Linked DNA regions of Homo sapiens: regions 2 and 3 are each linked to region 1. The links are contacts of gene promoters, found by promoter capture Hi-C in blood cells and fetal thymus (Javierre and others, 2016). All regions are on one chromosome and are shown on one strand. The core of a region is centred on a gene start or on the middle of the fragment in contact, and the rest is flanking DNA. Distances in the headings are between cores, read along the strand shown.

Region 1 (2,970 bases), core at 341-2,840:
AATGGCGCGATCTTGGCTCACTGCAGCCTCTGCCTCCTGGGTTCAAGCGATTCTCGTGCCTCAGCCACCCAAGTAGCTGAGATTACAGGTGTGCGCCACCAGACCCAGCTAATATTTGTATTTTTAGTAGAGACGGGGTTTCACCATGTTGGCCAGGCTGGTCTCAAACGCCTTGACCTCAAGTGACCCACCCGTCTCGGCCTCCCAAAGTGCTGGGATTACAGGTATGAGCCACCGTGCCTGGCCTAGAATTTCTTATCAATGGAATCATACAATATGTATTAATTTTGTGGCCTTTGAGAAGTTTTTTAACTGTAAATTGGCTTTATAAATTAGCATACCTTTGAACTCACATAAAGGATGAAGGTTGAATTAGGGTAATTAATCTGTACCTCCCTGAATTGGTTTTGATTCCAAAAATATATACTAAATATAGTTTCCTGTTCCCTATTACAATAGAGTTCATATTTACTACAGTGAAACTATCATTTTCCACTCAGTTGAGACGTTACAAGACTTTAAGCCCCATGAAACATTCTATTTCGTGACCACTGTATACCCAGTGCCAACACTGTCTCACACATAGTAGTTGCTGAGTAAACATTTGTTGACTGAATGGATGTATTTCCCCTGAATTGCTTCTACATGTCTATGTTAGATGACTGGGGTGCTTTTATTTTTTTAGAGATAGGGCCTCACTTTGTCTCCCAGACTGGAGTGCAATGGCGCCATCATGGCCCACTGCAGCCTCCAACTCCTGGGCTCAAGTGATCCTCTTGTGTCAGCCTCCTGAGTAGTTGTGACTACAGGCGTGCGCCACCATGTCCAGCCAATTTTTGTACTTTTTGTAGAGACGGGGGGTCTCACTATATTGCCCAGGCTGGTCTTGAACTCCCGGCTCAAGCTATTCTCCCGCCTCAGCCTCCCAAAGTGCTGGGATTACAGGGATGAGCCACTGTGCCCAGTCGGGATGCTTTAATGTTAGAAACTTAATTACCTTGCGTTTTTAAAGGAATGTGTGAGAAGTGCCCTATTCTGCCTCAAGTGATGGCAGAGGGTGGAGATTGAGACTGGAGGAAGCCCTGTGCAGTACATATCTGTAAGTCATGAAATAGCATCATTTTCCTTGTCTGGTCATATTAAAACGGTGATTAAAAAATCAAGAAAATAAAATCCCACTAGCAGTGTGTCCGAGAATCTTTGTTTACCTCCTCCCTATTGTTATGTCATGACATGGAGCCCAGCTGGGGAATTCTGAATACTAGGTTCTAAAACAGGATTTGTCATAAACGAATTGCTTGATCCTGGACATTCACCTCTAAAATAGACACCTGACCTCGGTGTGTGTGTGAGTGTGGTGAAAATCAAGTGGGAGGGAAAGTGAGCAAGCACCTGAACAAGGTACAGAGGCGCGCGAGGTAGTACCATAATACCATCTACACCAAGGTCTATACTATCCCTGGTCTCCGCTGCGTCCGCCGGGAGGAGGCGGTGCAAGAATGCGCACGCGCGGCCCCGGGCCCGGCCACACCCTCTTCCGCCGCTCCCGCCCAGCGACCTCGCTCCCGGGGCGACGCCCCGCGTGCGCCAGAGTCGCCGAGGTCGTCCCCGGCACCGGAAGTGACCCTGGCGGGTTTGTCTTCAAATTCTCGGCGAGCAGGAGCCGCGCCGGCAGGTGGTGTTGACGATTGAACTGGGCAGTACTGGGGCCGTGAGCGGAGAGCAAAGTGGGCTGGACTGGGTCAGGCCCTCCTTCCTCGCTGCCGGGATCTCCACTCCGCCAATCCCCTGTGCCTGGCGTTGGGCGGTTTCCCGAGGAGCTTGGGCCGCCGCAGGTGAGTTTTCACTCTGGCGGTGCTCTGGGGACCCCCGATTTTCCAGGGCCGGGCTGGTGAGGGACTCGGGGGGCCCACAGCGAGAACCCGCCGCGCAACCCTCCGTGAGCCTGCCTGTGCCTGAGCTGAGGTCCTAGGTCCTTGCTGTTGTCCACGATAACTTGGCTTAGGTGACAGTCCCCCTACCTGAGGAATCCTGTCAGGCGGAGGACTTTTCGGGGGCTCCTGTCGATCCCATCTTTTGATCTGTGTCGTTAGCGAAGTCACCAGCCGAGTTTTTAGTTCTTCGATTTTTCGACTGGTTCTCTCCAGAACCCGCTCACGCCCCCCACCCCGAAACCCTCACAGGTAAAAATCCCGATGGCCATGACATTGGGAGGCAACTTCTTTTCTTAAAATTTGTTAGGTTCGAGTGATATTGTTGGGGATGTTATTTCTTATTTATTCTAGAGCCCGGCGTCCTCTGGAAGGCCTGTGGGCCTTTTGGTTTAGAGTTGGTACCTTTTAGAAAAGTTTTCCCTCGAAACAGTTGTTTCATACAAATGTGATGACAAAGTTAGAGATAAACGTAGATCCTGAAGTGCCTTACAGTGGATAATCTCAAGCTCTTATTTAATCAAAAATAGTTTCCTGTTAAAACCGCGAAGGGCCGCTTTTATATTAGTTACTAACTTCCAACAGCACAGTGATGCTCTTTTCTCTTGAAAGCACTAATTTACGTCTTCCTCTTTGAAATTAGACCTCTAGTTATTGCTGAAAACATTCCCGATGTTTTAGAATGGGTGCAGTAGATCTTTGTCACGTAATCACAATGATAATCACCTTAGTAGATGTTAAGACAGATTCTTGAAATGTTTTTACGGGCTTAAATGTCTCAGTATAAAGCCCTATTTTCTTTTCCAAAAGAGCTGGGTTTTGTTCTTTTTTTTTTTTTTTTTTTTTTTTTTGAGACGGAGTCTTGCTCTGTCGCCAGGCTGGAGTGCAGTGGCGCAATCTTGGCTCACTGCAACCTCCGCCTCCCGGGTTCAAGCGATTCCCCTGCCTCAGCCTCCTTGAGTAGCTGTGACTACAGGCGCGCTCCACTACGCGCGGCAAATTTTTTGTATTTTAGTAGAGATGGGGTTTCACCATGTTG
Region 2 (2,834 bases), core at 75-2,574, 640 kb after region 1:
AGGTCAGGAGTTCAAGACTAGTCTGGCCAACATGGTGAAACCCCGTCTCTACTAAAAATACAAAAAAAAGGCCAGGCGCGGTGGCTCACGCCTGTAATCCCAGCACTTTGGGAGGCCGAGACGGGCGGATCATGAGGTCAGGAGATCGAGACCATGGTGAAACCCCGTCTCTACTAAAAAAAAAAAAAAAAAATACAAAAAATTAGCTGGGTGTGGTAGCGGGCGCCTGTAGTCCCAGCTACTCAGGAGGCTGAGGCAGGAGAATGGTGTGAACCCAGAAGGCAGAGCTTGCAGTGAGCCGAGATTGCACCACTGCACTCCAGCCTGGGCAAAAGAATGAGACTCCATCTCAAAAAAAAAAAAAAAAAAATTGGTCGGGTGTGGTGGTGTGCACCTGTAATCCCAGCTACTCAGGAGGCTGAGGCAGGAGAATCGCTTGAACCTGGGAGGTGGAGGTTACAGTGAGCCAAGACCACACCACTGCACTCCAGCCTGGGCAACAGAGTGAGACTCCATCTCAAAAAAAAAAAAAAAAAAAAAAGCTTGCCTGGAATGACGTCTTGATCACTTTTTGGAATGTTTAAAAAACAGTAGTTGAATGCATGAAGTTAGCCATGATTTTGTGATAGAAGTCCAGTTAAGAGAAGTCATTCATTCATTCTCTCTACTGGAACTTGAAGTTCCTAAAATCATTCAGAAAAACCTGTCAACTACAGACAGAAGATAATAAATGAGCATAACATACCAAGACAGAGACGATGTTGACTCTGTGGTTATGGAAAGTGGGAAAAATGCAAAATGGAAGATCAGTTCAATATTTATGGCATAGAAATAAAAACCACAATGATATACCATCTCACACCAGTCAGAATGGCGATTATTAAAAAGTCAAGAAACAACAGTTGCTGGCGAGGCTGTGGAGAAATAGGAACATTTTGCACTGTTGGTGGGAATGTAAATTAGTTCAACCATTGTGGAAGACAGTGTGGTGATTCCTCAAAGATCTACAACCAGAAATACCATTTGACCCAGCAATCCCATTACTGGGTATATACTCAAAGGAAGATAAATCATTTTACTATAAAGATATATGCATGCAAATGTTCACTGCAGCACTATTCATAATAGCAAGGACACAGAATCAGCCCAAATGCCCATTGGTGATAGACTGGATAAAGAAAATATGGTACATATATACCATGGAATACTATACAGCCATAAAAAGGAACAAGATCATGTCCTTTGCAGGGACATGGATAAAGCTGGAAGCCACTATCCTAACAGCAAACTAACAAATTAACACAGGAACAGAAAACCAAACACTACATGTTCTCACTTATAAGTGGGAGCTGAACAATGAGAACACATGGACATAGGGAGGGGAACACATACTGGGGCGTGTCAGTGGGGTTGGGGGAGGGAGAGCATCAAGATAAATAGCTAATGCATGTTGGGCTTAATACCTAGGTGATGGGTTGATGGGTGCAGCAAACCACCATGGCACATGTTTCCCTATGTAACAAAACTGCATGTCCTGCACAGGTATCCTGGAACTTAAAATAAAATTCATAAAATATGGTATAGGATGAGTGCAAGAAACGCCCACTGTGAGTGGACTGCAGGTGGTGGTCCTGTCCAATTGTTTTCAGTTAGTTACAAGGACCTCTTTGGCCACAGTGGGGACCCTCCTTGAGGCAACCCTCTTCAGCCACCCTCAGGTCTGCACTGCTCCCTCTTCAAATCTGCCGCTGTCCTGGGTGTGATTGTGTTAGTGTGAACCTTGTCATTACTGCCTTTCCCCAGTCTCTTGAGGGCCTTTCATCCCTCAGTCATCTGGGGCTCTCTCTGGCTTTCTTCTCTGATTCCCATCCATCAAACATGGCTCTCAGCTAGGTGTCTGGTGGAAATGAGTTCATAAATTAATGCACACAGAAGAATAAATAAATAAGTTATCAAGCTCAATGTGCTTCCAAGAAATACTTGCATTTTAGTGGAAATCAGTCCTTTAAGAAATGAGGTCTAATGGTGGTGGAGAGAGGGAGGGAGAGAAGAAGGAAGGGACTAACCTTTACTGAGTACCAATCATTTTATTCGGTAAAAGCTTGTGGAAGGAATGAAAAGTACACTGGAGACTTTACTAATTCTATCTCATTAAATGAGCAAAGTTCGGGCCCACTGTCAATTTGGTGAGAGGCAGAGAGACACTGCTGAGGTTGCATGCCCTTTTTCTTCTCAGAAGGCTCCCAGAGGTCACCTTGAACTTCCTGTCAGATCCCGAATTCTTCTCCAGCTTCTGGAGTCTTCTTTCCTCTACAGCCAGGGCCGCTCAACCCTCTCCAATTCTATGGCTGATCCTGGACCCAGAAGAGAGGGATGTAAGGAGTTCCCAGTAAAAGGAAACGTCAACATACACAGAGGGTCTGTTGGGGAGGTGCTGGATGGGCAGGGCTCCAAGACCTCCTGCCCTACCCAAGCCAGAAGAGCTCTGCTTCGCCTGGGTTTACATATTGGGTTCTCTGTAAGGCTTCATTTGATACAAAGGTTCTAGATCTGAGAATCATTGCTCTAGGCCAGCATGCTGAGACTCAAGACATCTGATCACCAGCCTGGGCAACAAAAAGTTGTCTCTACAAAAAAGTTAAAAAAAAAAAATCAGCTGGAGGTATAGTGGTTCATGCCTACTGTAGTCCCAGCTACTCAGGAGGTTGAAATGGGAGGATCACTTGACCCTGGAGGTCAAGGCTGCAGTGAGCTGTGATCGCACCACTGCATTCCGGCCTGGGCAACAGAGTGACACTCTGTCTCTCTCACACACACAAAAGGCACGTGATCAG
Region 3 (3,176 bases), core at 248-2,747, 660 kb after region 1:
GATGGAAAATATGAATCTGAACGTCTGAATATCTGGGATTGTAATTTTATCCAGGAAAACACACTGGTGTCACGTTAAAGAGGTCAAGCAGCTAATGGAAAAATACCATCTAGTTACCTTATCATGAAACATCTCCTTTGGCTTCTCGCTCTTCATAGGTTGATCTGCTTAACTATTTGGATTTAAAAGAAAGAAAGATCTCATGGCATCAAATCTTATTCTTTGTCTTCAAATACTTCTATTATAAAACCAGTTCCTGTTTATTATATAAAATATGGCCAAGCAAAAAGAGGACGATAAAAAGCTACCATAAACCTGCCACACCAAATAAATATTTTAAAATGAAAGATATAAAGAATATAAAAATATGGTAGATATAAAAGTATGTTGGTGTATAGCACCTTTCAGTAACTTTTATACGAAAGCCTGGTTTTCTTACTGTAGGTTGTCCTGACTGTAATGCCGAACTCCAAATAAAATATTTAAAAGAACAAAGGAAGCAAAAGTCTTTGAACTTTCTTCCCCTAAACGCTTAATTTTTTTTGTACTTAAATGTGAGATTCCTCCACAAAGAGGCCAATGTTTCTTTAGTTGGATTTTCATCGACTTAGACATTCTTCCATCTAAATTCCAAATGGGGAGGGATGGAATGAACAAAGGAAAACTCATTTGATTATCCAAAAAACTCAGGAGAGTTTGTTATTTACCATGTGAATTGGTAACTTCTCACTGACTCCTTTATTTGAGGAAGTGGCATGAAGATGAGACAGTGTTAGGTGAGACAAGCCCTTCAGCCTCTTTAATTAGAATGGGAAAGGACTGGATTAGCTTTGGCTTCTCAGTTTTATAGGCTCCCTTCTTGGGAGGCTGAATGTGATTGCCTTAATTTAACAAGGTCTCTGTTCACCTGGAAGGACTCATGACAGAGTTGGGGACCTATATGATCTCCTTTGGCACTTTTGCAGTTGGTAGAACAGATACTTCTGTTAATGCAATCCAAGTTTGTTTTCAGTTTCTCTGAACAAGGACAAAGGCAAATCCCTCTTGCTTTCCTTTTATTTTGGTAATAGTCTCATGGCTTACTTTTTAATTTAATGCCCTAGTCTTCTTTTAAGTCAGTTTATAAGTGTTGGTAACATGCTAATGCAGTTTGTTAGAAGTAATAGAAATTCAGGACTTGGATTTCTTTTGGAACTCAGCCAGCTTCTTCAAAAAGGAAGGCTCTGAAATTTCCAACCTCTTAATAATTCATTCTCAGTCCTTCCCTATCTTCACCATTCCTTTTGAATTTTTAAACTTTTTAATCAAGGTTTTCATTTGCGGGGGGTGGGGGGGGGCCTTTACTGAAGTCAAGTAATTCCACCTTCATGAAGTTCTCACAGACCAGAAGTAGCTTCTTCAGAAGTCTAGAGGCCTCAAATGATAATAACAAAAACACTGAATTATGTGCCTCTTGTGTTTTCAAAGCCTTTGAACCTCTATTATCTCATTCTTATTGGCTGAGGAAGGACTGCTGAGGTTCCTGCATTTCTGAGAAGGGCCATTCCAGAAGGAGCAGGTGCTGGCTGTAAAGCTCACTGCTTGGGTCACTCCTTGTTGGCACAGGAGCATTGGAATAAGGGTGGGAGAGAGTGACAGACTTGGAGTTTCTGCCCAGTGGATCAGTGAATTAACAGGAGCAGAGGACAAGGAGGAGAAGGAGAGATGGAACTGCATCCTTGGGAATAGGCGAAGTCTACTTTGAAGGGTGGACTTGGAAATGATGAAGCGGAGTGGATTGGCATTTGGTTGGGAAGAGGTGGGGAGGGTGGGACAGTATTACATGTTGTAGGAATCTACAGCTTCAGATTAGAGACCAGGGAAACATCCTCATCTGCCTTCCTGCCAATCTTTCGGAGAACACAAGAAAGAAAGTTAATTGTGGTTATAGGTGTTGCTATTGTTGTTTTTTGCTTTTTTTTTTTTTTTTTTTTGAGACAGGGTCTTTCTCTGTCACCCAGGCTGGAGTCCAGTAATGTGATCTTGGCTAACTGCAACCTCCACCTCCCAAGTTCAAGCAATTCTTGTGCCTCAGCCTCCTGAGTAGCTGGGACTACAGGCACACGCCACCATGCTGGGCTACCTTTTGTATTTTTAGTAGAGTCAGGGTTTCGTCATGTTAGCCAGGCTGGTCTCAAACTCCTGGCCTCAAGTGATTCACCCGCTTTGACCTCCCAAAGTGCTGGACTTACAGGCATGAGCCACCGCACCCAGCCTGTTTTTTGAATAAAGGGAGTAAACCAGGTAATTGATGCATGATGCAGGCTCTGCCTAACTGTTCAATGTCAAGTTTCAGTTCTTGCTACCTCCTGCCTCAAACTTTATACCCCAGCACCCTTCACTGCCTTTAGTTCCTCCTCTGTATCAAGCTATTTCAAATTACACCCTCTCTGCTTGGACCTTGTACTCATCCTGCAAGACTCAACTGAGGTAACACCTCCTCCAGGAAGCCTCACAGACACGAGCTCCCCACACCTCTGGTGGTGCTCCTAGATAAAGCTCTGATGTTAGAACCCTAGCTGTGTGTGCCTCTCTCCTTAGACAATTCCTCGAGAGCATAGTCCATATTCTGTTTTTGAAGCTGTAGCCCTCACCACTGAGCTTGGCATAAAGTAGATGCTCATGTCTGTTTGGCTGAACGAATACACGTCTGATGAATGAAAGCACATGATGAAGAAGATCAAGAGTTTTGGCGCTACGGATGTCACTGCAGTGTTAGTGTCATGGCAGTAGGAATTCTCATTCTATTCAATGATGTTTCCCAAATGGTGGAAAATGTGCCTGTCACACGGTGGGTCCTGAAACAAAATTTTTAAAATAAATTAAGAAGGAAGAAACATTTTTGGAAGTGATGTACAAGTGGCAAGTTACAGATTCTTTTGCCATGTCAAAAGATTTTAAAGAGCTTTTCTTGAAGGCAAGCGTTCTTTTCATGAGAGACCCGCTTTTTCATCTGGAAGGAAGCTTCAAGGCACAAAGTCTTCTGCAGCTTACTCATGTGCAGTAGAAATTTTTTTTTTGTTATTCACGTTACACAGTCTGCAGTGAGCCTAAGACCCGAGTCTTCTGAAGTCTCAGGGCCATGTAGGGCACACCACTTGGTGCAGAGACTGCAGTGCCCTGTCCATCCTGACCCT

The links. Contacts are between HindIII fragments. The CHiCAGO score rates a contact against its expected background, and 5 or more counts as called.
Region 2: a contact is called between a fragment that was not itself captured here and the fragment with the promoter of KATNA1 in region 1, in 1 of 17 cell types (activated CD4 T cells). The highest score is 10.3, in activated CD4 T cells.
Region 3: a contact is called between a fragment that was not itself captured here and the fragment with the promoter of KATNA1 in region 1, in 1 of 17 cell types (activated CD4 T cells). The highest score is 5.6, in activated CD4 T cells.

What each region holds. Positions count from the first base shown.
Region 1 is chr6:149,647,334-149,650,303 of GRCh38, reverse strand. KATNA1 (katanin catalytic subunit A1) reads left to right here and starts at 1,590. Exons shown (of 11, transcript NM_007044.4): 1 at 1,590-1,835. RefSeq lists a silencer at 1,371-1,640 and an enhancer at 1,711-1,790. The HindIII fragment of the contact is 10,327 bases long and covers 1-2,970 here.
Region 2 is chr6:149,004,823-149,007,656 of GRCh38, reverse strand. All of the region lies in intron 5 of UST (uronyl 2-sulfotransferase), which reads right to left. Among named protein-coding and RNA genes, the nearest start is that of UST-AS2, 26 kb to the left of the region's middle. The HindIII fragment of the contact is 1,559 bases long and covers 545-2,103 here.
Region 3 is chr6:148,987,371-148,990,546 of GRCh38, reverse strand. The region is part of intron 5 of UST (uronyl 2-sulfotransferase); the gene reads right to left. Among named protein-coding and RNA genes, the nearest start is that of UST-AS1, 24 kb to the right of the region's middle. The HindIII fragment of the contact is 3,017 bases long and covers 1-3,005 here.